2 separate regions of the Homo sapiens genome follow, and region 1 is linked to region 2. Evidence: promoter capture Hi-C in human tissues and cell types (Jung and others, 2019). All regions are on one chromosome and are shown on one strand. Each heading gives the region's core, a stretch centred on a gene start or on the middle of the fragment in contact. The rest is flanking DNA. Distances are from core to core; before and after follow the strand shown.

What was found. Contacts are between HindIII fragments. The study calls those that stand out against the background at their distance.
Region 1: the fragment with the promoter of LSM7 here is called in contact with the fragment with the promoter of TCF3 in region 2 in 4 of the 25 tissues and cell types used here (IMR-90 fibroblasts, bladder, lymphoblastoid cells and 1 more).

Annotation. Positions count from the first base shown.
Region 1 is chr19:2,326,767-2,329,864 of GRCh38, forward strand. It overlaps LSM7 (LSM7 homolog, U6 small nuclear RNA and mRNA degradation associated), which reads right to left and starts at 1,820. Exons shown (of 4, transcript NM_016199.3): 1 at 1,795-1,820; 2 at 1,621-1,711. The coding sequence starts at 1,800. It overlaps SPPL2B (signal peptide peptidase like 2B), which reads left to right and starts at 1,918. Exons shown (of 15, transcript NM_152988.3): 1 at 1,918-2,009. The coding sequence starts at 1,944. RefSeq lists silencers at 825-924, 1,945-2,204 and enhancers at 1,195-1,254, 1,535-2,189, 1,625-1,674, 1,685-1,734. The HindIII fragment of the contact is 22,122 bases long and covers 1-3,098 here.
Region 2 is chr19:1,651,131-1,654,331 of GRCh38, forward strand. It overlaps TCF3 (transcription factor 3), which reads right to left and starts at 1,485. Exons shown (of 19, transcript NM_003200.5): 1 at 1,170-1,485. RefSeq lists silencers at 404-523, 504-726, 534-763, 854-933, 1,464-1,593 and 1 more and enhancers at 1,944-1,993, 2,114-2,223. The HindIII fragment of the contact is 17,847 bases long and covers 1-3,201 here.

The DNA.
Region 1 (3,098 bases), core at 570-3,069, 680 kb after region 2:
GCCCCAAACCCTTTCTGAAAGATGATTCTCCCACTGGCCCGAATAACTGAATATGGACAAATGTCAGCTCAGCCTGCAGCACTGTAGGGGCAGACCACCACGGTGGAACAGAGTCCCGAGCTGGCAGCGTCCGGGAGCTGCAAGTGTCCCTAGCCAACACTGGCCAGAACGGGGACCCTGGCCCTGCAAAGGTAAGGCACTGAGCTCTGTCAATAACCAGTGGGCTCAGAAGAAGACCCCAAGATGATGGACCCCAAAAAACAACCCTCAGTTACAACCTCCTGAGAGCCCTTGAGGCTGTGGTACCCTGGCTCCTGACTCACAGATCCTGTGAGATAATAAAATGGTGCTGTTTCAGCTGCTAAATGGGTGATTTGCTATGAAGGGCAGAAAACAAAGGGAAGCAGTGTGACCAGCAAGAGCGGCCGCTCACTCATGTCCTTCCATGTCCGGAGTCAGCATGGTGTAGACTGAGAAAACATTTTATTCATATTCCTTTTTCTTTTTGTTTTGAGACGGAGTCTTGCCCTATCGCCAGGCTGGAGTGCGGTGGCACAATCTCGCCTCTGGGGTTCAAGCAATTCTCCTGCCTCAGCCCCCCGAGTAGCTGGGACTACAAGCGTGCGCCACCATGCCCAGCTAACTTTTTGTATTTTAGTAGAGACAGGGTTTCACCACGTAGGCCAGGATGGTCTTGATCTCCTGACCTCCTGATCTGCCTGCCTCGGCCTCCCAAAGTGTCAAGATTAAAGGCATGAGCCACTGTGCCTGGCCTCCTTTTTCTCTTTTGAGACTGGGCCTTGCTCTGTGGCCCAGGCTGGAGTGCAGTGGTGCGGTCATAGCTCACTGCAGCCTCAAACCCTAGGGTGAAGCCACCCTCCTGCTTCAGACTCCCAAATTGCTGGGATTACACACGTGAGCCGCCCCGTCCGGCTGGGGCACTGTGATTTTTAATAACTCTCATGCCACCCAGTTGTCTACAATCCAGGGACAAAGAGGTTTGGGTCCCCGTCTTACAAAAAAAAGAAACCAAAGATCCAAGAGGCTATTGAATAAGTGACGTGTTGTCTGACTGCTTACTTCCTGCTGAGAGCTGCCTCAATTACATTACATGCCTGTAACCATTCATTCTCACCACCCCCTGTGAAGTGGGTGGAGTTACCAGCCCCATTTGACAAATGAGGAAACGGAGGCTAGGAGAAGGCAGCTCACTTGCCCAGTCAAAAATGCTAGGCTGGGCATGGTGGCTCATGCCTGAAATCCCAGCAATTTAGGGGGCTGAGGCAGGCAGATCGCTTGAGGCCAGGAGTTTGAGACCATCCTGGCCAACATGGCCTCTCTACTAAAAATACAAATATTAGCCGGGCGTGGTGGTACACATTAATTCCAGCTACTCGGGAGGCTGAGGCACAAGAATCACTTGAACCTGGGAGGCGGAGGTTGCAGTGAGCTGAGATCGCACCACTGCACTCCAGCCCGGGTGACAGAGCGAGACTGCGTCTCAAAAAAAATAATGAAAATAAATAAAAGAGGTGCTTCCGCATGCGTCCTCATCATCTCTGTTGCTGGGTTTATTTGAAATTTTTAAAGAGGGGGTACCGACAGCGGGAGCCTCCTCACCTTCGCGGCCTCCCTGGAACTTTACCCGGATCGTCTTGTCGATGTACTTGGACAAGTCCAAGATGCTCTCCTTTTTCTTCTTCTCCTTATCCTGCGGGGAAAGCAGAGCGCATGAGACCTGGAGCGCGGCCCGAGCTCCACGCCCCCCGGCTCCAGATTCCGCCGCGCGCTCACCGCCATCTTGTCGCGCCGTGTGGCTCTTCGCAGGCACCGCCCCGCGCCCTTTGACCTCCCCCACGCGCATGCGCGGCGCATGCGTGGCCCGGGGTCTCGGGGCGTTGCTGGGAAACATCTGCCGTTGGTTGCGGCGGGCACCGGCCGACATGGCGGCAGCGGTGGCGGCTGCGCTGGCGCGGCTTTTGGCGGCCTTTCTGCTCCTCGCGGCCCAGGTGAGCGCGGCACCGGTCCCGACGGCACCGCGGGCTGCGGCCCTTCGGCCTCTCTGTCCCCGGGCTACGCGCAGGAACGACCCCGCTCGGCCCGTCTTGGGGGTCCAGCCTCGGGGATCCGCCGTCCCCGCGTTGTCGGCCGGCGGTGCCGGGGCTCGGCCGTGACCTTGCGGGTCTGTCCCCGGCTCCTCTCCTTTCCCCGCCTCGGAGGCCCTCCGCCGCTGCAGCGCCACTCACTTCCCACCGGGTCTGAAATTTGTGCCCCCTCCATCCTCCGGTTCTGCTTCTCCGTTTCGGGGTCTCCAGTTGCCGCCGGGGACGCCTCTCTCCGGCTCTGTGGCCTTGAGCAGGCGGCTGCCCACCCCTCTCCGAGCCTCAGTTTCCCCTTAGGCGGAACGGGCACGGTGCTAAGCTAACCTCACCCTAGGGGGTGCGGTGGGGGAACCCAGAGGCGTCCCGCGCGTCCCCCAGTAACTGGCAGCATCCTGGAGCGGCCAGGAGTCCAGCCCTGCACTGGGGTCGGATCCCCGCTCCATCTTTTACTCCGTGACCTTGGACGATGGAATTCGTGTGCAGAAGGAGGACCGACTATGGTGTGGATTCTGGAGGTTCTGTCCAGGGTGACCAGCGCCCAGGGCCAACAGGCCTTCATTATGTTCATTGTGTGTCATTTGATGTAAAGAGTGTCAGGTTCTAGTGGGGACAGTCTACGAGATCGCACTGTCATAACTGCATCTTTTATTTTCTTAATTCCAAATCTTCCCTCTCTCCTGAGTTCGGTGGCTCAGGCAATGGAACCTGGAGCAGCCCCACAAATGCAGCCCTTAACCTTCACTACCCCCTCAGAGTTCTCACTCTTAAGGCGTCGCCGCCACCTGGCTCCTCAGTCTCCACTCCTCCAGCCCCACCGCTATCCCTCTGCTGTGGCTGCCTTTGTCCACCACATCCCCAGTCCATCCTCGACACAGCAGGGGTGACCCTTTCAAAGTATGTCAGACCGTGTCGCATCCAGATGAGTGCGCCGTCCAGTTGTGACCTGGCTGCTGGGGAAGCCTGCAGCTCATTGCAGTCGCTTCACTCTCTAGTCTT
Region 2 (3,201 bases), core at 235-2,734:
ATGGGGGATCCACCTGCCAAGACCCATTCCACCCCCAGAAAAAGGTACAGAGAAAAATTTCCATTCCAAAGAAATGCACTCCAGGCCCCTCCAGTCTCGACTTTCCCCAGGGGTCCCCAGGTGGGGACGGGGGCAGCCCGGGAGACACCTCCGAGGCTGGGGGTGGGGAGGAGCCTCCGAGGTCGAGGGAGACCCAACTTCAGAAGCAGAGAAATCCCCTCTTTGTCTGCCAACTGGAGGCCGGGTGTGAAGCGGGCGCCCCAGCGCAGCCCCTCCCCCGCTCAGTTTTTTTCTTTTTTGGAGGGCGTGTGAAACTGACTTTTTTTGAGGACTACGAAACCGCACTTTTTTGTGGGGTAGCTGAAACCGATTTTAAGACAGACTTAGTTGGGGGGGTGGCGAGCTAAAACGGGCATTCTACGGGAGCTGGAAGACTTCTGGGGCGTCCCAAGGACTTTGAGAGACTTGGAGAATGTTTGAAGCCACTTTGCACGGCGCCGAAGGCGGGGGGCGCGCTGGAACGCCTTTTTCCCGGGGGGAGGCGGCCCGGGAAGCCGGACCCCCCTCCCCCCGCAGCCGGTGCAGGCGGTGCGGCCCGGGAGCCTTTGAAGCTCGCAGCGCGGCCGCCGCCTCGCCCCGCATTAACGCGGAGCAGATGTTACCCGCGCGCCCCCCCCCGGCCCGCCCGGCCCCGACCAGCGCCTGCAGCGCGCGGCACCTTCCCCGCGCAGACAAAAGGACGTCCCTCCCGCGCGCTCCCCACCCCAAACTCCGGCGCCCGGGCCGGGCCCCCCTCTACCCGAGAAAGGGGGCGCCCCGGGGTCCCCGTGCGCCCGGGCTGGGGGGGACGGTCCTCGCGCCTAAGTTGCACAGCCCGTCCGGCGCCCCCCGCGCCCCCGCCCGGGGCTGCTTAAAGTTTCCCGAAGTGCCCGGCCCGACGGGGGCGACGCGGGCCTGGCGAGCTCCGGGCTCCTCCACGTCGCCGCCCCCCCGGCGCCGCGCGAAGTTGGAGAACAATGACTCCCGGGCCGCGGGGCGCCCCCCGACACCGCCCCCGCCCCAACTTCCTCCGCGCCCCCCCCCAACAAGCGCGCGCGGGGCGGGCCGGGGTTCCCTGGGCACAAAGCACGGGGGTACCGGGCGCGCCCCCCGCCCCCCGCCGGGCTCACCTGCTGGGCGCGGCCGGGCACGCGGCGCGTGGGGGGGGGCGGCGGCATGAAGCGGGGGGGCCCCCCCCCGGACAAAGGTGCGTCGCGGCCGGGCCCCCGAGGGTCGCGCGTGGGCGGCGGCGGCGGCGCGCGTGGCCCGGGCCCCTCCCACCCCCGCGTGGCCCGTCCCGCGGGGCCCGTGCGCGCGGCCGGCCGGGGCGCCCCTGGGGCAGCGGCGTGCGCGGTGCCCGCGGTGCCCGCCGCCGCGTCGGCTCCGGCCCGCTACGCCCGCAGCCGCCGCCGCTGCCTCATCTTCCTGCGGCGGGAGACATGTTCCGCCCCCCGCCCGCGCCGCCCCGCCCCGCCCCGTGCAGGCCCCGCCCCTGCCCCGCCCCCGAGTGCCCCGCCCGGCGGCCCACGCGGATCCCTCCGCCACCTCCGGGCGGCTCGGGCCCGAACGCCCTAGCTCGGCCTCTCGAGCACCCTCGTGAGGACCCCGAATCCCGTGAGGTCCAGAGCCTGGGAGCGGGGACGCGCAGAGGAGGCGGTCGGGCCACGGCGCGGGGAGAAATCACGGACTATCCCCGTCCGCGGAAGCACACACGAGCTGTGCGCTTAGTCCATGACGCAAGCGAGTAAGGCCCGTGAGATTGAAAGCTAAGGCAGAGCAGTCTGGTCAATCGGAAGCCGCGAAAGTCTGATGGGCGGGGATCCTAGCCATTCGTGGTGAGGCCCCGCCTCCTTTCTTCTCGGCCCCGCCCCTCAGCAGAGGCGGGACTCTGCGAGCGAGAGGCCGCGAGAGGCGGCCGGGGTGGGTCCTGGAGTTTTGTTCTCAGGTTGGCGTGGCCGCCCGCGCGGAGCCTTCTGCTTGGTTATATTTGCGTTCCTCGGGCCGGCCCCGCGTGCTGAGTGGTGCGAGCGGGTATCACGGCCCCGAGGGGGCTACGTCAGACCCATTTTCCCGGCGGGAAAACCGACTCTGGCTCCGGCTCTGGGTCAGAGAGCCCCGCGGGGAGTCTCAGCGGTGCCTTTGCCGACTTGAGTCTCCGTCTCGGCATCTGTGAATTTGGACCTGACTTTGGACAGAACTCAGGCCAGATCTGGCTTCCTGATTCTTAGTAGTCCGTGTCTACATTTTAGTAAAAAGTGACCCCGCCTAGGATCGGGCGCCGTGGCTCCTGCCTGTGATCCCAGCGCTTTGAAGGAGGCCGAGGCGGGAAGATCGCTTGAGGCCAGGAGTTCGAGAACAGCCTGAACAACATAGTGAAACCCCCCCCACCCACACCCGTCTCTAAAAATATTTAAAATAATTTAAAATAATAATTTAAAAAGTTGACCGGACGCGGTGGCCCACGCTTGTATTCCCAGCACTTTGGGAGGCCAAGGCGGGCAGATCACCTGAAGTCAGGAGTTCGAGACCTCTCTGGCCAACACGGTGAAACCCCATCTCTACTAAAAATACAAAAATTAGCCGGGCATGGTGGCGGGCACCTGTAGTCCTAGCTACTCGGGAGGCTGAGGCAGCAGAATCGCTTTCACCCGAAAGGCGGAGGTTGCAATGAGCCGAGAGCACGCCATTGTACTCCAGCCTGGGCAACAAGGACGAAACTCCGTCTCAAAATAAATAAATAAATAAGTAAAATAAAATAAAAATACAAAAATTAGCTGGGCGTGGTGGCATACACCTATAATCTCAGCTACTCGGGAAGCTGAGGCAGGAGAATCGCTTAAACCCAGGAGGCAGAGGTTGCAGTGAGCAGAGATCGCAGCACTGCACTCCAGGCTGGGCGACAGAACGAGGCTCCGTCTCAAAAAAAAAAGTAAAATAACTAAACAAATAAATGAAAATAACACAATCTCCCAGGGCTCCCTGGGGCCCCAAAGGGAAATTTACACTCCACTCCCAGCCTGGGAAGATGCCACCATCTCGCTGGCCCGCTTGGCTCCAGCCATCCTGCCCTCTGGATGGTCCAGAACTTGCTAAGCTCATCCCCACCCCGGGCCTCTACGTTTGCTTTGTCCTCTACCTGGGAGGCTTTTCCCACCCCTATCT